Regions from separate parts of the Homo sapiens genome. Here all the other regions are linked to region 7. Evidence: promoter capture Hi-C in 16 types of primary human blood cells and fetal thymus (Javierre and others, 2016). All regions are on one chromosome and are shown on one strand. Each heading gives the region's core, a stretch centred on a gene start or on the middle of the fragment in contact. The rest is flanking DNA. Distances are from core to core; before and after follow the strand shown.

Region 1 (2,700 bases), core at 1-2,500, 340 kb before region 7:
GATAGCCACCTACTGTAAAGAATTACCCAGTCCAAAGTGGCATTAGTAGCTTTTTTGAGAAACCTGTCCCAGATCATTAATCAGAACGTGTTATTGATATACCAGTCTTCTCCCTTGTAGTTAGGTTGGTAGAATTCAGACTCTGGAAAAAACTGGGAATGTAAAAGGCTGAATGAGTGTAAGCTGAAAGACAAGAGAAAGGAGAATTGTTTTAAGCTTACTAAAGCCAAAATGGAAAAAAAAAGAGGGGGGAGGATTGGGGGGTGAGGAAGACAGTCAACAGACCGCTTTTAGGCCATCATTCCGAAGGGTTCTGTGCTAGGAACCTTACACGTGTTGTCTCACATAATCCTTAAAACTCAGAAATGATTTTAAATTAAATAGCACAGAGAGGAAAACTGACTGGAGAGGGAGCCTTTGCTTAGGTAGGCAACTTTAACTGGTTTATTAGCACATTCCCCTGAAGGGAAAGGGGGTGTGATTGCTCCTGAAGAGACCAAAGAGACTGGGCTCCTTTTTAATCAAAGCTCAGGAGGAGAGCTGCATTCCACTGTTTCACAGATGCTGTGAGGGTGACAAAGATGCAGGGCACCCACTGGAAACACAGACGGCACTCTGCGAAAGAGGAAGGGGCGCCAGGAGCTTGGGTGAGCAAGGTTGGAGGTGATTCTGCCCCTCTCCCCAGGCTTTCTGTGTGAGTCCATTCCTCCTCTCAGATTTATTGTTAGAACTTAAGACAAGCCAATTACATTTCATAATGTCTGTGTCATTCAGACGCTGAGAACTAATCCAGCCTTCTAAATGGTGCTTCTTAACTCCTTTCTTCAACAGGAGAGTTAATGTGTGGAATTAAGTGCAGAATCCATGGCCCTCTGTGGTGACGGTGATGGTTCAGGTTGTGTTTCTGGGTTCATTCTGGAAGCTCCCCCAAGGAAAGGAGGAAGGAAGCTTGCAGGGTGGGGCTTTGCCATTGCCCTGACTGGCTCTGGTTTCCTTGCCTGATACATTGAAGTCAGCTTCCAAAGAATGCCACCCAAGGTTTTGAAGGGGCACAGTGCCTCTGTCCTCACAAAACCAGCCTGCATATGAGTTTACTGAATTCATTTAGGTCCTGCTGAATCTTTCCCATTTGTTCCTTCTCTGTTTCAATATTTCAATGCTTCCCTGGAGGGGCCCAACCTTTCTGGAGGGCAAAGATCTGTTGTTAGAGAAAAAGAGCAGCCAGAGGAGGAAGATGACTTGAGGGTAGGCAGCAGTTGGGCAATCAGTATTGAAAGGTTGCTTTCAGCCTGCCAAGACTTGGGGAATTAGAAAAGCAAGATAAAACAAAACAAACAAACAAACTATATATATAAAAAACAATTTTTTAAAAGTTTTTTTATGTTCTATATTACTATTAGCTATATATTAATGAATGTTCCTTTAAAGCAGTGTAGTCATTATTGCTATTATTATTATTATGGTTAGTTATAGACAGTGGAATATTGTTCTTTCTCTATATTATGATTACTAGCACTATTACTGTTATTAGTTACATGTTATTGAAAGCTTCAAAGCAGCATAGGCTTTTTATAAATATTTTTGCTCATCTTTATGACAATTCTCCAGTGTTGGTATTGCTCCTCTATTTAACAGATTAGAAAACTGAAGCTTCAAGAACAGACTTGCCTAACAACAGGAAACTTGTATGTCTCGAAGTGGCAATTCACACATAAGGCTCCATGACTCCTGAACTCTCACAAATATTAGTTGGCTCTTTTCATGGTTTTACTGAAGTTGCTAGAAGTTTACAGAAAAGGAAGTGCAGGAACATTTCACAAATCTACAATCTGTGAGTATCACATCCTGTATAGCTGTAAACACTGGAATAAGGAAGGGCTGATGACTTTCAGAAGATGAAGGTAAGTAGAAACCGTTGATGGGACTGAGAAACCAGAGTTAAAACCTCTTTGGAGCTTCTGAGGACTCAGCTGGAACCAACGGGCACAGGTAGGTAATGCTGGAAGACTTTTCTCATCTCACTATTCCCTTGCCGTGACCTCATTAGAGGAGTAATTTAACTTGAAACTCCTTGACAGCAGTTAAGAGACACTAGGGCCTTTTGGAAATAGAGTGGGCAAATGGAAGGAGTATCTGTTTTTAACTCTGTGTCCGCTGTATTCTAATTGCATAAACTCAGTGAGTCACTTACCTAAGGTTGTGTAATTAATGGGAGCAGAGCTCTTGTCTCTTCAAATGTGTTTAGACCATTTGTAAACTGGGCGGTCTGTGCTTTGAGAATGGTGCCGTGAAAAGGGATCCAAGCTGAGCTTAGCAACAAATACCACAACCTACTTGGTCTTTATGCTAAAAAGTGGGGAGGACCAACGACGCGAGCCTATGTGTTATGAGTCCAAGACTTGTTCTCATACCACTGCATGCAGCTGTTTCTCCAGCCTGAGTAAACTCAGACACAGGCTGGCAATGCCAGGTGGGAAATTAGGAAGAGGTAGAATGATCTAGAGATTTATGCAAAGGCTTCAGACTCCAGGAAAGCTGAGATCCAAGACTGGTTTTACAGCTTCCCGGCTGTGTGAACCAGGGTGAACAATAAGGGTAACTGCAAATATTTCTTCAGCATTAACTCTGGGCCACACATATATGCAATAGGTATATTATTTGCATTCATAACTTAAACTTTATTTTGCATTTTCTTATTTA
Region 2 (2,700 bases), core at 98-2,597, 380 kb before region 7:
TGTCAGTCTGTGGTTTATCTTTTCTTCTGACAGTGTCTTCTGCAGAGCAGAATTTTTTAATTTTAATAAAATTAAGATGATTAATTCGGTATTTCATGGGTTGTGCCTTTGGTATTGTATTGACAAACTCATCACCAAAACCAAGGTCATCTAGATTTTGGCCTATGTCATCTGTTAAGAGTTTCAGAGTTTTGAGTTCAACATTTGGGTCTGTGATTTATTTTGAGTTAATTTTTGTGAAGGATACAAGGTATGTGTCTAAGTTCAATTTTTGCCTATGGAGGTCCAGTTTTTTAAGTAGTATTTTTTTTTTGGAAAGACTATTCTTCTAATTGTATTATCTTAGTTCTTTATCAAAGATCACTTGACTATACTTCTGTGTCTATTTCTAGGCTTTCTATTCTATTCCCTTGATCTATTTGTCTATTTCTTTGCCAATATCACACAGTCCTGATTACTATCACTTTATAGTTTGTCCTAAAGATGGGTAGTGTTACTCCTAAAACTCCTTCTTCTTCAAGATTGTTTTTGTTATTCTAAGTCTTTTGCCTTTCCCTATAAACTTTAGAGTCAGTTTATCAATATACACAAATAATTTGCTAATATATATATATATATTTTGAGATGGAGTCTGGCGCTGTCACCCAGGCTGGAGTGCAGTGGCCCAATCTCAGCTCACTGCAAGCTCTGCCTCCCGGGTTCACACCATTCTCCTGCCTCAGCCTCTGGAGTAGCTGGGACTACAGGCGCCTGCCACTATGCCTGGCTAACTTTTTGTATTTTTAGTAGAGATGGGGTTTCACCATGTTAGCCAGGATGGTCTCAATCTCCTGACCTCGTGATCCGCCCGCTTCGGCCTCCCAAAGTGCTGGGATTACAGGGGTGAGCCACCACGCCCGGCCATTTGCTAATATTTTGAGGGAGATTGCATTAAATCTACAGATTAAATTGGGAAGAACTGATGTCTTGACAATGTTGAGTCTTCCTATCCATGGACATGGAATATCTCTCCATTTATTTAGTTATTCGACTTATTTTTTTTTAAGTTTCTCTTATAGATTTTGTACATAGTTTGTTAGATTTATGCCTAACAAACACCAAATACCAATACCTAAATATTTAATTTTTAGGGTTGCTAATTTAAATAGTATTGCATTTTTAATTTCAAATTTCACTTATTTACTATAAGTACATAAGAAAGTAATTGACTCTTGTGTATTAAGCTTGTATCCTACAACCTTAATATAATCATTTGTTAATTCCAGGAGTTTTTGGTTGATTCTTTCAGATATTCTACACAGACAATCACGTCATCTGTGAATAAAAGCAGTTTTATTTTTTTCCTTACCAATTGTATACCTTTATTTCCTTTTCTTGTCTTACCATTTCAGCTATGACTTCCAGTAAATGGTAAAAGGAGTAGTGACAGGCTTATCCCTGCCTTGGTCCTGATCTTAGTGAGAAAGCTTTGAATTTCTCCATTAAGTATGAAGTTAGCTGTAGTTTTATTAATAAATATTCTTTATCAACCTAAACAAGTTATCCTCTATTAATAGTTTTTCAAAAGTTTTTATAATAAACAGGCATTGGATTTTGCTCAATATTTTTCCTGCATCTGTTGATATAATCATGTGATTTTTCTTCCTTTTAGCCTGTTGATGTCATTAGTTACATTCATTGATTTTTGAATGTCTAGTCAGCCTTGCATATCTGGGATAAATCCCATATGGTTATGGTATATAATTCTTTTGATACACTATTAGATTTAGTTTGCACATGTTTTGTTGGGAATTTTTGCATCTTTGTTCACCAGAGATGTTGGTCTGCAGTTTTCTTTTCTTGTAATGTTTTTGACTTTTTTTTTTGGTAGATAATAGTGCTAGCTCCATAGAATGAGTTAGGGAGTATTTCCTCTTTTTCTGTTTTCTGTAAAGAATTGGTATAATTTCATTTTCAAGTGTTTGGTAGAATTCCAAACCTTTCCAGGCCTGGTGCTTTCTGTTTTGAAAATTAATTAATTATTTATTTTATTTATTTAATAATTATAGGCTTATTCAGAGTGCCTATTTCTTCTTGTGTGAATTTTGACAAATTGTCTTTAAGGAGCAATTCATTGGCTCAAGGTTATCAAATTGTGGGCACAGAATTGTTCGTAGAGTTATTTTATTATCCTTTTAATTACTATGGGAACTGTAGTGATATTCCCCCTTTCACTTATGAGTAATCTGTGTCCTCTCTCTCTTTCTCTTAGACTGGCTAAAGGCTTATTGATTTTATTTATGTATTTTTCTTTTTTTTAAAAAAAAGCATTGGATTTCATTGAGTTTGTCTATTAATTTTCTGTTTTTAATTTTATGATTTCTGCTCTAATTTCTATTACTTTTTTTTCTTCCGCTTACTTGGAGTTTAATTTGCTTTTCTTTTTCCAGTTTCTTAAGGTAGACTCTCAGGTGATTGATTTTGATCATTATTTTCTAATATATTCATTCAATGTTATAAATTTTTTCTAAGCACTGCTTTCACTACATCCCATAAATTTTGATAAGTTGTTTTAATTTTTTGACCCATTTATAATGCCATGAGATAATTGTACTCCAGCTCCTATTTTAAGAACGCTGTTTACTCATGTTCATGTCCTCAGGCCCAGACGTCAAGAAAACATCAGATTTGCTCTTCTTTTTTTCTTCCCTTGTATACACT
Region 3 (2,700 bases), core at 140-2,639, 420 kb before region 7:
GTGATGTTTTGAAAATTCATTCTCAGGTATCCTCACTAACACCTTTCAATATAAGTAATAATATCTAAATAATACCTACAAAATTTAGCAGATGAAAAAGCTAAGGGTCAGAGGGATGACTTGCTGTATCTACTAGATTCCCAGAGAATATGGGATAGAAATGGGACCCAACCCAGCGCTAGTATACAAGACCAGAGCTGGGAGTTGACTTTTCATAAGGTCTTCCCAGAAGACACCAGATTAGGTAGGAATTCAAATTAGGTAGGACAATTTCTTGTCCACTGCCTCCCTCTTGTGGCTCAATTAAATATGACACCTCAATGTCAAAATGAAGGGGATAATAGGAAAAACAGAAAAACTGGGTTATACATTCATTACCTTCATGACTCACGTGAATCACTTTCTTTCCCTGGGCCACAGACTTCTCATATTTCAGTGTAGAAAGATTTCCACGTCTCTTCTAACTCTGATGTTCTATTTTTATAAGATGTAAATCAGGTCTCTTATATACAGCCCAGTCTAAGCAAAGCATCTCAATATTGTAAGAACTGCCTGTGTGCATGTGTGTGCGTGTGTGTGCATGCATGTGTGTGTGGAAAGAGATGACAACAATTGAGACTACAGAGCAAGTATTAAGAGAACTGTTTGTATTTCTGGACTCCTGAAAATTGTGCACCACCTTCTACATGTCTTTGTGGTCAGTGGTGAACAGGCCATACCATGAGTGCTAGGAGAATTTTCCTGATGCCAGGATTTGAGCTTACCATTGCTCATTTACCCTAATTTCTTCCCAAAGATATGTTACTTTTGGGAAAGAAACTGGGGAAAGATTGAAAAGTAAATCCTAGCTTGCATTCCTGGGACAAATAGTCCCCGAGAGATATATAACTTTAAGCTTGGTTCTGAACTGAGATCATTGTCTCCTCTAGTAACCTGAAGCAGCATCAAGACATCACATCCTACTCTCTGTCCTTACAATAAAAGGCCTCAGTTTAGTATCCCGAAGTCCAACTTGGCCCTACCCTCCAGACACAGATATGAAGATGTAAAGAGAAGGCCAAAGCTTATGGAATAAATCCTACTCAGAAGAGAAGATAGGCACAGGGCCAGGTTCTATGCATTCTGGCTCAATACCAGCGGTAGAATTTAAAAAGCCTTTAGTTGCATCTGGAGAACTCCAGGTTCGTCTAGAGCAGTAGCTCTTAAAATGTGGTTCCCAGAGTAGTAGCATCAGTATCACCTGACATTGTGGTTGACATGCAAATACCCTACCCCAGACCTATTGAATCAGACAGTCTCGGTGTGCATTCTGTGTTTTAAGAAGCCCTCCAGATTTTGATACACACTCAAGTTTGATATCTACAGGCTTATAGCAGTAATTGGCAACATTGACTATACGGTAGAATCCGCTAAAGAGCTACAAAAAATTTTGACTCTCCAACCATAATCCATATTAATTAAATCAGAATACCTGGTAATGGGGCTCATGTGTTAGTACGTGTTAAAGTTTCCCAAGTTATCCCAATGCTCAGACAAGATTGAGATCCATTGCTCTAGAGGCAAAGGCAGACTTCTTGGAGAGTCTTTTGCTTCTGTCTCCATCCTTTCAGCTAACTAGTAGAAGGGCCCAGGCCTTTCTCACATTAACTTCTGTTAAGCAAGTTCTAGTCCCATCTCAGGTTTGTGCAGGTGATTTGTTTTTAAACATAAGCTTGGGACTTTAATTTTACCTGATTAAATTTGATCTGTATTCCAACGCTCATGTTCCAGACTTTTGGGTTGTATCTTCAATCTGGACACTCTCGTTTTATAAATTATACTTCTTGTTTTTGGATCATTTGCAAATAGGATCAGCAACTAAATTCTTGATGAAAATATTAAGTGGTTGAAGATCCAACCAAGAGACTCCACAAAGGATGACATTAACACCCCCTGCATAGGATTTCTACCAGATGACAATCCATATAACTGGTTATTCAGGGCATGGTAGGCAGCCATAGTCCTGATTCTCTGGTTTTCCATATTTAGGGTCAACCCTGAGCCATTTGGCTGAGACCAGCTGGGCCTGGGTGTCATCTGATCACCTTTGTTACAGGATCAGTCCCGAGCCTGTGCACTGAGGCCTCTTCAGTACTTCTTCTGAACTAATAATACAAGGTTCCAAATGTCAGATATAGGAGAAACCGAGTGTTGGAGTTATCTGGGCCTGGGTTTTTAAAATACAAGTAAGGACAAAGGATGTCAAGATGTATAACTCTGATGTTCAGTCTTCGGCTTCAGTCTTCCTCACTTGACTGTCACTCTAGCCCTGAAGCAAATATACCAATGCCATGCCATGAAATTGCCTCATGGGCATAATTGTTGTACATTCCGACTAAACACAATAAGAAGACGGCAGGGCTTGAGTTTCACCACCAGCCCCCAGATGACCGCATAACAGCTATCACATAGTCTTACTGAACTAAAGTACCTGGGAACTTGAACTCCAAGCTCTTGGTGCTGATCCTGTGAAAAGTGCAATGTTGCATGTCCTGTCCCAGCTTCCTCTTTTCCAGGGACTTTCATATCTTAACTGTTCCTCTTGTGGTGCTCTCAGAGCTTTTCTCCACCAACCACTTTTTTTTTCTTTTTGCATTTCAAAACACATCACTTTTCGTTTATTTCATTATACAAATTATTTGCTTTCAAATCCATTTTTTC
Region 4 (2,700 bases), core at 176-2,675, 300 kb before region 7:
GCTTTACCTATGAGAATCAGTATTGGCTTGACTCTAGATACTTTCACATCTGTCAGATGAATCATTTATTTCCAGAAACGTCTAACTTTTGGAGACTTCTTAGTTTTATTTAGGAGACTAGATTCGGTAGGGAGATCTGGGTCCATTACCATTTCTCCATGAATTCCCTATCCGTTGAAAAAATGTGCAGATACTGCATTTTTTTCTGACGTCTGAGAAGAGATCCTATTTTTTTTTTTTGCACATGAAAGTGTTTATTAATCAGGAACTTTTGAACTTTCTCCCTAGACCCTTATCCATTGGACTGTCTTCGGGCCTTTTTCTTTAACTTTTATTTTAAGTTCATGGGTACAAGTGCAGGTTTCTTATATAGATAAACTTGTGGCATTGGAACGTGCTGTACAGACTATTTCATCACCCAGGTATTAAGCCTAGTACCCATTAGTTATTTTTCCTGATCCTCTCCCTGCTCCCACCCTCCAACCTCTGAAAGCCCTCAGCAAAATGATCGTTGGGAATACTGGAAAGTTACCGAGACTATTTTTTAATACAGGCACTGTTGCGTTAAAATTCAAAGTAACGCTGGCTTTTTGTTGTTATTGTTTGCTTTGTTTTGTTTTGTGTTGGTGTTTTGTTTTATTTTTTTGAAATCCACTTCTTCTTCAAAAGCAGAACATATATTTTTGAATTGAGATTCAAACTCGTGTCATCATTTTGTTTAATGCAAAGTGGAGGGGACTCCAAAGGCCTGAGATGAAGCTTTAGGATACAAGTCTTGATACGACCATGAGGTGGAATCCCAGCCAACGGAATTCTGTTCTCTTTAACGGGGCCTTGTGATTGTACTGATGATGCTAAACTGCTTGCAACTTTCAATTACTTTTGCTCTCTGCACACTCACCTATACTGCAGATGGCAGTAAAATCAGTTGGGTGAGTAACAGTTGAGAGAATGAGGATGCAATTGATTATTTTATTTAGTAATCTTGCATATAATTTTTCAAATATTTGTTAAGAGGAAGAAAGGCACAGCTGTTGTTCGTGTATAGTTTTTGAGGACCACTCCTCAAACAGTATTTTGGTCATATTTGCCCTACATTTATAAACACCTAGGATACTCAGAAACTCTCAACGGTAACACCAAGTAATTCAATATTATTTGTTAATTGATTCATTAGTTGATTTAATATCTATTGAACACTTATTTGTTTGATACACTGTGCACATGGTAAGGATATGAAAGTAGGCCATTCACTTCAAAAAAACTCAAAGTAGGCTGGGCGCAGTAGCTCACACCTGTAATCCTAGCACTTTGGGAGGCGGAGGCAGGTAGATCACATGAGGCCAGGAGTTTGAGACCAGCTTGACCAACATGGAGAAACCCCATCTCTACTATAAATACAAAAATTAGTTGGGCGTGGCGGTGCACGTCTGTAATCGCAGCTGCTCAGGAGGCTGAGGCACAAGAGTCACTTGAACCTGGGAGGCGGAGTTTGCAGTGAGCTGAGATTATACCACTGCACTCCAACCTGGGTGACAGAAGGAAATTGTGTCTCAAAAAACAAAACAAAACAAAACACTCAAAGTATATAAAGTCAATTGCCCAATGAAGAAATAAATTGGCCCTGGCGTAGTGGTTCATGCCTGTAATCTTAGTACTTTGGGAAGCTGAGGTGAGAGGATTACTTGAGTCCAGGAGTTCAAGACAAAGCTGGGCAACAGAGTGAGACCCCATCTCTACAGAAAATAAAACATTGGCCGGATGTGTGGCACATGCCTGTAGTACTAGCTACTTGGGAGACTGAGGTGGTAGAACTGTTTGAGCCCAGGAGACTGAGATTACAGTAAGTGTTGATTGAACAGTGCACTTCACCTTGGGTGACAAAAAGAAAGAGATAAATTATACTACTGTGATACAGTACATTTAACATGCTGTGAACTAGGACTATATACAAAGTGATTTAAAGAAATTGTCATTTGATTTTCCTGTTCTGCAACAGCTCAGGAGTAGGTAGTCCGTACCCGGGAGTATAGCTTTGCTTTCTTCCTTGTGTGGCTTCTTTTAAGGTATGAAAGTTGTAACTAAAGCTTTTTCCTTTATGTCTGCATCATATGGACAGATCTTTGTCATATAACCACACACAGTTATGAGTGGTGACGAAATCTAGCTATTGACTGAGCAGTTGTATGTCTAGGTTAAAACCAGGAGCTCTATTCAAGGAAGCAAGATCAGAATAAAAATTGCTAGACAATCCACATTCTCTGGCCCTAACACAGTCTTTTCTCTGGCCACCCAAATGTTCAACTCTCTCCCCAAAAAGGAAATGCACTTATTTTCTCATCGAGGTAGAAAATCCAGAGTCTCAGACATTTGTTATACTTAGCACAATCTCAGGAAATTTTTAATGATTTAACATTATTTTTCCTACAATTCTGGAACCACTTTCTTGTTATTTGGGAAATCATGTTGTCTGTACTTTCCCACACTCACAGTCAAAATACCATGATCAATTAGGAGGATTAAAAAGAATAAAAACATCTAGTTGGACAAAGAAATAATTAGTAATCCTGGAGTTACCTATTCATAGACTTTATTTGATTCTCTTAGGCAGGAATTGAGATTTGCTCCCCAAGAAATACAGCAAGATCTGCTTATAATATGGTTTTCATCTCTGCTCATTCTGGCCTTTTACTTATTACC
Region 5 (2,700 bases), core at 53-2,552, 400 kb before region 7:
CCAACTTCACTAGCATCATAGGTAGTTCAGTAACCATCATCCCTTCCCTAGAGAACTGCCTCTTTCTTAACCCTAACTCCCTGATTTCAGTATTATTTATTCCTATTGTTGCTTTACATGAAAACCAGGACAATATTTCTGAAATATAACCCATTTAATTCTGAGAATTAAAATAATTTCAGATTATAGACAACAAAGTTTTTGGGATTAGGCAAAACTGGATTTCAATCTCATCTATACCAGCTATATGAATATCTCTGAGTTTCAGTTCCATCTTCTGGAAAATGGGAATAATAATGTTACCTAGCTCCATCCTTCTTCCATTTGTGTGTCTTTTGCTTATTCATCAGGTCTCCAATTAGATGTCCCTTTATCTAGGAAGTCTCCTCTGCCTACCTACCCAACGTTGAGTTCTTTGATCCTCCTATGAGCTCTCTCAGGATATCCAATTTTACCTTGCAGATCACTGATTATAATGGGTTGTAATGATTTATTTATTCATCAGCATTGCCACTTTACCTTGCAGGTAACTGATTATAATGGGTGATTTATTTACTTGTCTATATTGTCAAGTAGCCTATAAAATCCTTGAGCGAAAATCATTTTTCACCATTTTATCTGAAGCACATGGCACACTGCTTGGCTTATAGTAGCTTTTCTCTAAGAAAATGCTGAGTGAATGAAAATTGCATGCCACTTTGCTTTCCTCCATGTAAAGAAGGCATTATTTTATTTTACCAATGAATCAGGTTCAGGGGATTAACAAGGTCATACAAGAAATGATTGCCATTGGGTTTGTCTTAGTCAAAGACCAGCTTGTTCTATGATACCAGCTGCTTCTTTGACTTAGAAAGGTGTTGTATTAATTATTGCTGTACAACCAACTTGTTCCCATTTTGTGGCTATTCATGTTGAACCTCCAAAGGTGAAATATCATGAAAATAAGATATTTAAGTTGTGTATATTAAGGCACAATTACTTTTTCACCAACCTAATACAATAGTAACAGTAGTTCTCTGGGAAGAAGAGTACTGTGGAAATGTGTGAAATTGTGAAAGGGGGCATTTATAAATTACCATTTACTTAGTTGTGTATATAACAATCTTTGAGCAGAGTCTGGCAAACAGAAAATCCTCCACCACTGATACCCACAGTAATTAGCACTATTATTTTCATAGGAAAGACTGTATCAGGCAGCCACTGCTTTTTCAGCAAATTTCAAAATAAACGTCCACACCCATATTGGGAACGCAAAATCAGTTAATGCTTCCGATAAAAAAGAGGAACTAGTTGTGTGTCTCAGAAGTTCTCAACACATCCTTTAAGGTTCCAAACATCTACTAGAAAAGGAGTGCAGATTTAAACTGAGTGAGGTGTGGAGTGGGGGAAGCTGACTGTGTCTGGAACAAAGAACTTTGAGGAACTTGCCCAGAGCCCTGCACTCATCAGACCTGCAGCAGACATTGCAGGCCTGAAGAAAGGTAGGTCCAGGGACTTGCCTTCCTAGGCTCTCGGACTGATAGTTTGTTTCATTTCCTGGGTTTAGGATTTCTGGGAGTGGAGTGAGAAAAAAAAATGAGGTCACTTCCCATGACCCAAGCTGGTAGTCAGGGTTGGGGTGGATTGAGTGCACATTTAAATATGCATTTGGTGAGGGTTGTGGGTGGTTGAGGAACAGTCTTCGCTACAGTTGATGGGAGTTAGAAAAGCCTCCTAAAGGCTGACACTGGAGGCTGGATGAAGTTGTTTTAGTTACTTTTGTTCCGTAAGTTCTCAGGATACCAAAACACTGTAAGCAACATTTTAAACTTTGATTAATTACCTCATCTACTGTTAATGCACTTCTTCCATGGTCTTTATTCTTTGTCTCTGACTGGTTATTTTTATAATTCAAGACTTAAGAAAAGATCTAGCACGTGCAGAATTTGGTGTACATGGAGTAGGGCACAGGCAGGGTCCCCAGCCTTGTACATTTAGATGGGCTGTGGCCTGACGTAGTTCTCCAGTGGTCTTTGGCACTATTCATGTGGCACCCAGGCAGTAAACTGAGGCTGCTCATGATAAAATCTGCAAATGAAAAACATCTTGTAGACTTTTAGCATTCTTAGGATAAGAAAGAAGCTTGTAAGTAGTCGTAGTCATTGTAATCTTTCCCCAGATGAAGTAAATGAAATCCAGAAAAGGGAAATAATGTACCTAGAATCACACAAGTTAACAAAAGGGCTAGGAGCAAAAAACCCAGAATTCTTGGTTCCTAGCCCAGGCCTTTCCCCCTTTTCCCTTCCCATGCCACCATTTCTGCATCCCCATCATCCTCCTAAAAACCATCCAGATTCAGGCCTCATTTTGGGTTTCTAGTCTATTTGATAACTCTGCCAAGAAAAAGGGGATGACCGTGTATACCACTCTCCTCATGCTCTCTTGTGTTGTGACCCATAAGGGGGATGGTGACATAAAAATGAGGAAACAAGAGACTGCTGGTGCTGCTGATCCACAAGGAGACTGGGGCCAATAGAAGAGGGAAGGGTGGTCTAGGTTACCCCACCTCTTTATCCGGGGTGGGGAGGAGGGGCGGGGAAGACATTGTAGTTGTCAAGAACCTGATGCATATAGGTGATGTGGCAAAACCAAGGTTTAGATTCTTCTCCAACCTGAAAGAAATGTCCCTCCCTCATATGTATCCAATATTCTCTGCAGTTA
Region 6 (2,700 bases), core at 37-2,536, 320 kb before region 7:
GGGTTCACACCATTCTCCTTCCTCAGCCTCCCGAGTAGCTGGGACTACAGGCATCTGCCACTGCGCCCAGCTAATTTTTTGTATTTTTAGTAGAGACGGGGTTTCACCGTGTTAGCCAGGATGGTCTCAATCTCCTGACCTCGTGATCCGCCCATCTCAGCCTCCCAAAGTGCTGGGATAACAGGCGTGAGCCACCACGCCCAGGCTGTTCTTGATTATTTAAAAAATTTAATATCTCAATACCAATTATACTATTTACTGTACATTTAAAATACATTTTCTTATTGCTTTCAGAAGTTTAATTTTATTATTTTTGGTAGGGTTTATTTCTGGGATGTGAAATTGGTTCAACATATACAAATCAATAAATATGATTCACCACATAAACAGAATTAAAAGCAAAAACCATATGACATCTCAATAGATGCAGAAAAAGGTTTTTGATAAAATTCACCATCCTTCATGTTAAAAATCCCTCAACAAATTAGGCATCAAAGGAACATAACTCAAAATAATAAGAGCCATCTATGACAAACCCACAGCCAACAGCCAGCATCATACTGAACTGGCAAAAGCAGGCAGCATTCCCCCTGAGAACTGGAAAAAGGCATGGATGATTATTCTCATCACTTCTATTCAGCATAGTACTGGAAGTTCTAGCCAGAGCAGTCAGGCAAGAGAAAGAAATAAAAGGCATCCAAATAGAAAGAGAGGAAGGAAGTCAAATTGTCTCTCTTCACAGACAACGTGATTCTATACTTATAAAATCCTAAAGACTCCAGCAAAAGGCTCCTAGAAATCATTAACAACTTCAGTAAAGTTTCAAGATACAAAATCAATGTAGAACCATTACTAGCATTTCTATATACCAATAATGTTCAAGCTGAAAGCCAAATTAAGAATGCAATCTCATTTACAATGCTACAAAAAGCATAACATACCAAGAGTAGAGCTAACCAAGTAGGTGAAAGATCTTTACAATAAGAACTACAAAACACTGCTGAAAGAAATCAGAGACGACATGAACAAATGAAAAAACAGTTCATGCTCATGGATAGAAATAATCAATATTGTTAAAATGGCCATACTTCTCCATGAATTTCTTTAAAAAATTGTATATATCGATTTTTATCAAAAGCTTTGTCTGCATACCTCTGTTGAGATTAACAAAGTCTTTTTTTCTTATTTGATGTGTTTCTGCAGTAAGTGATTTTCGAAGATTTTCTATTGTCAAATTATATATGAATAACTGGAATGAGTTCAATTTGGCCATGACCAAATGCTTTAAAAATACATCTTCCTATTCTATTTGCCACTTTTATTTTTCAGTTTCTTACATCTATATATATGAGGGAGAGTGATTTATAATTTCTCATTATCACACTGCTTATATTAGTTTTCTATTGTGCCTGTAACAAATTACCACAAGCTTTGTGACTTAAAACAATACAATTTTATCTTAGAGTTCTGTGGGTCAGGATACAACACTGGTCTCACTGGGCTAAAAATCAAGTTATCTACAGAACTACTTTCCTCTCTGGAGCTTCTAGGGAAAAAAATCCATGACCTTGCCTTTTCTAGCTCCTTGAGGCTGTCTCATTCATTGACTCATGGGCTTTTTCAAGGCTGGCAGTGGCAGATCATGTCCTTCTCATGTTGCACCTCTGACTATTCTTCTATCCTCAATTCTCTCTTAGACTTACCTGGGAAAGGTTCTCCACTTATAAGGACTCTTATTATTACATTAGAATTGCCATAATTCTCCAGGATAAACTCTGTGTTAAGATCAACTGCTTAGCAAACTTGATTCTATCTGTAACTTTTAAAATCATTTGCCAGATATCATAGCATACTCTCAGATTCCAGGGAGTAGGATGTGGATAACTTTGGGTACTATTATTCTTGGTAACATACTGCCTTTTTTGATGTTGTTATTGCAGAAAATAGAAGAAAAATAACAACTGTGTCCTGGCCGACACTGGCTGGGAGCTCATTGTCAGTAGACATGTGGTGAGGCAATGAGTCATAACCAACGTGGGTTTCTTTTTGTCCCATGAAAGATTTGGTGTGACATGAGCTGATGAAAAAGAACTTAATTCAAGTAATAAATTTATTTCTATTTTCACAAATTTGGAAGTTTTAAAATGGTACCCTGTTTCCTGGTTCCTTGAGAAGTTGTGGGGTTGAAAGGTGGGAAATCAAATGCATAATCAGCATCAGCATTACATTAAAGAGTACACGTGCAGGTTTGTTACATGGGTACATTACATGATGCTGAGGCTTGAGGTCCCAAAAATCCCATCACCCAGGCAGTAAGCATAGTACCCAACAGGGGCTCTTCAACCTGTTCCCCTCTCCCTCCCTTCCCCATCGAGTGAGTGGTCCTCAATGTCTATTGTTCCCATCTTTACATTCATATGTATTCAATATTTAGCTCCCACTTGCTAGTGAAAACAATGCAGTATTTGGTTTTCTGTTCTTCCGTTCATTTGCTTAGGATAATGGCCTCCAGTTCCATCCATGTTGCTGCCAAGGACAAGCTTTCATTGTTTTTTATGATCGCATAGTATTCCATGTTTTATATGTACCACAATTCCTTTATCCAATCCACCATGGACAGGCCCCTAGGTTGATTCCATGTCTTTGCTATCATGAGTAGCACTGCAATGAACATATGTGTGCATGTGTCTTTTTGATAGA
Region 7 (2,700 bases), core at 128-2,627:
AATTCACTCATTCAAAAAGTATTTTATTTCTACTGTGAGCTAGGTAGTGTTGTAAGGGCTAAGGATAGAGCAGTGAGCCAAAGAGACAAAGCCCCTCCCTCGTGGAGCAGACATTCTAGTAGGGAGATAAACAAACGATAAACAACCACACACTTAGTGCGACAGAGGGCAATGAGTTATAGCAGGCGAGGGGCATGAGGGGTGTCAGTGGAGGTGAGGATGTAGGATCTTATGTAGGGTGGCCTGGGAAGGCGTCTCTAAAAGCTTACCTCTGAGCAGAGACATGAAGGATGTGAGGAAGCCACCATGAGGCTATTTAAAAGAAGAGGGTCCTGGGCTGAGGGGGACATCATGTGCAAAGGTAGCTGATGTGTTCAAGGGGCACAAGAAGTTCTGTGTGATGGGAGCGGTGTGAGCAAAGGGGAAAACGCCTGGAGCTGAGGTCAGAAAGGAAACCAGGAGCCAGATCTTCTAAGGTCTTATAGGTCATGAAAAGGGCTTTGACTTTTATGCTAAGATGGGCGCCACTGGAGAATATCCCCTTAAAATGAGCTACTTTACATGCAGGAAAAAAACAAACAAAACTCCTTTCTTTATAATTTCAACATACCATTTTCAGTTCTCCCTTATAAAGAAGTATAATTTGCATTATAATGTAGCTACACATCTGAAATATGTATTCTTAATGGATCTCACATTTTCTAATTACTTACTTTAAAAGATAATATCTGAAAGCTTTGGGTGTTTGAGATGGCTTTTATCTCCAGATAAGGAAAGAGAAATCAAACAAAACCATTTCTGGGAAACCGAGGTCCATTTCTTGCCTAAAGTCAAACAACTTCAAAGAGTCTAGGCTAGAATCCAGGTCCAGGTAGACATCATTAATTTCACAAAGCCAGATGTCACCTGGCAGATCCCTGCCTGAGAGCCTAAAAGGACATGTTGTAAAGCAGGTGTCTAGGATCATAAAATGAGCTGATGCCTATGAATGGCCTAAATCCCAGTGAAGTAGTTACTAAAAAGCAGCCTGGTAACTGATTGGATACAATAAGGGCTAGAAGAGGTCTTGTTGATACTAGCACATTATCCAAACTTCCTGATGTCTGACCCAGGCCTTTGGTAAAGGACATTTTCTCAACATTGCCTTCACTGCATACCCAGCCCCAGGTTTCTCATATGACTGTGCAACCTAGAAGTCACCTTCAGACACCTTGGAGGGTCTATAGTCGGTAAACTTAGATAAGCAAATGAAAATTTACTTACTTGTATCAGGAAAGGAGAGGTCAGCACAGGGGCAGTTAGGAGAGGCTGGGTTGGGGACAGATTATTTAACAAAGGGAAGCACATATAAGAGAAGGTAAAGAAATATTCCACTTGCAAATCGCGGTACCTGTGGATGAGAGACATAGACGAGAGAGTGAGATGGCCTGGTTTGCCCTCTACCTCCTGAGCCTTCTCTGGGCTACAGCTGGGACTAGTACCCAGACCCAGAGTTCATGCTGTGAGTATGATGTTTTTCCAAGGAGGTCAGGGAAGCAGTTGCCCTGGGGAAGGGGCTGTGACCTCTGACACTGAGTGGTTGAAAATAGCAATCACTATAGGAATTCCAAAATGGGTAAGTCTGAGTGTGATTGTGTGCTGTTCATCCTTCCTGACTTAATAGCATAAGTTCTTTGAGAGACAAGTCTATATGTTTTTTATTAAGAGAGATGGGGCCAGGTGCAGTGGCTCACACCTGTAATCCCAGCACTTTGGGAGACTGAAGCAGGAGGATTGCTTGAGCCCAAGAGTTCAAGACCAGCCTGGGCAACATGGTGAGACTCCATCTCTACAAAAAAAATAAATAAATAAAAATAAAAAATTAGCTGGGCGCAGTGGCATGCACCTGTGGTCCCAGCTACTCAGAAAGCTGAGGTAGGAGAATCGCTTGAGCCCAGGAGGTCGAGGCTGCAGTGAGCTATAATCACACCACTGCACTCCAGCCTAGATGACACAGCAGCACCCTGTCTCAAAAAATCAATAAATAAAAATAATAGAGATGGAAGTACTACTGCAGGAATAATGGTTGATGGTACAAAGACAGACACTCAGTGGCTATTGTGACCAGACACCACTACATACTAGTGAGAGATTTTGGTACTCACTGAGGATAAATTATATCCCAAATCTTTAATACTCTTCATGAAAGAGTAAGGAAAAAAATGAATGCAAGGAAATCAGTGATTTCCAGGAAAGTGATAGAAACTATGAGAAATGTCATGAGCCATATTGCTTGAAGTTACTAAATTTAAAAATCACTTTCTTAAGGATATGGATTATTTGAGAAGATGTAGAAACTAATTGTCCTCAAAAGTAAAATCTCACCATTTTCTCCATTTCTCTTTAGTGACTTAGGACACTAATGCTAATCAAGTGTTCTCCTAAAAGGCATCAAAGATGGCCAGGCGAGGTGGCTCACGCCTGTAATCCCAGCACTTTGGGAGGCCAAGAAGGGTGGATTACCTGAGGTCAGAAATTCGAGACTACCCTGGCCAACATGGTGAAACCCCATCTCTACTAAAAATACAAAAATTAGCCTGGCGTGGTGGTGCACACCTGTAATCCCAGCTACTCAGGAAGCTGAGGCAGGAGAATCACTTGAACCTGGGAGGCAGAGTTTGCAGTGAGCCGAGATCGTGCCATTGCACTCTAGCCTGGGCA

What was found. The method cuts DNA at HindIII sites, captures the fragments that hold promoters and counts their contacts. A CHiCAGO score of 5 or more calls a contact.
Region 1: a contact is called between a fragment that was not itself captured here and the fragment with the promoter of CBLIF in region 7, in 1 of 17 cell types (erythroblasts). The highest score is 5.9, in erythroblasts.
Region 2: a fragment that was not itself captured here is called in contact with the fragment with the promoter of CBLIF in region 7 in 1 of 17 cell types (naive B cells); the score reaches 5.3 in naive B cells.
Region 3: a fragment that was not itself captured here is called in contact with the fragment with the promoter of CBLIF in region 7 in 1 of 17 cell types (erythroblasts); the score reaches 6.1 in erythroblasts.
Region 4: a fragment that was not itself captured here is called in contact with the fragment with the promoter of CBLIF in region 7 in 4 of 17 cell types (M0 macrophages, M1 macrophages, M2 macrophages and 1 more); the score reaches 9.4 in M0 macrophages.
Region 5: the fragment with the promoter of MS4A4E here is called in contact with the fragment with the promoter of CBLIF in region 7 in 13 of 17 cell types (erythroblasts, M2 macrophages, M0 macrophages and 10 more); the score reaches 22.6 in erythroblasts.
Region 6: a contact is called between a fragment that was not itself captured here and the fragment with the promoter of CBLIF in region 7, in 1 of 17 cell types (erythroblasts). The highest score is 6.4, in erythroblasts.

The regions. Positions count from the first base shown.
Region 1 is chr11:60,182,267-60,184,966 of GRCh38, reverse strand. MS4A6A (membrane spanning 4-domains A6A) reads left to right here and starts at 1,884. Exons shown (of 6, transcript NM_022349.4): 1 at 1,884-1,989. The HindIII fragment of the contact is 600 bases long and covers 951-1,550 here.
Region 2 is chr11:60,225,472-60,228,171 of GRCh38, reverse strand. All of the region lies in intron 3 of MS4A4E (membrane spanning 4-domains A4E), which reads left to right. Among named protein-coding and RNA genes, the nearest start is that of MS4A4E, 16 kb to the left of the region's middle. The HindIII fragment of the contact is 243 bases long and covers 1,226-1,468 here.
Region 3 is chr11:60,263,398-60,266,097 of GRCh38, reverse strand. No RefSeq gene overlaps it. Among named protein-coding and RNA genes, the nearest start is that of MS4A4A, 16 kb to the left of the region's middle. The HindIII fragment of the contact is 648 bases long and covers 1,066-1,713 here.
Region 4 is chr11:60,145,317-60,148,016 of GRCh38, reverse strand. No RefSeq gene overlaps it. Among named protein-coding and RNA genes, the nearest start is that of LINC02705, 18 kb to the left of the region's middle. The HindIII fragment of the contact is 1,328 bases long and covers 762-2,089 here.
Region 5 is chr11:60,241,739-60,244,438 of GRCh38, reverse strand. It overlaps MS4A4E (membrane spanning 4-domains A4E), which reads left to right and starts at 1,302. Exons shown (of 9, transcript NM_001393391.1): 1 at 1,302-1,481. The HindIII fragment of the contact is 3,157 bases long and covers 1-2,123 here.
Region 6 is chr11:60,165,053-60,167,752 of GRCh38, reverse strand. No RefSeq gene overlaps it. Among named protein-coding and RNA genes, the nearest start is that of LINC02705, 2.0 kb to the right of the region's middle. The HindIII fragment of the contact is 291 bases long and covers 1,141-1,431 here.
Region 7 is chr11:59,844,176-59,846,875 of GRCh38, reverse strand. CBLIF (cobalamin binding intrinsic factor) reads left to right here and starts at 1,377. Exons shown (of 9, transcript NM_005142.3): 1 at 1,377-1,501. The coding sequence starts at 1,423. The HindIII fragment of the contact is 3,325 bases long and covers 738-2,700 here.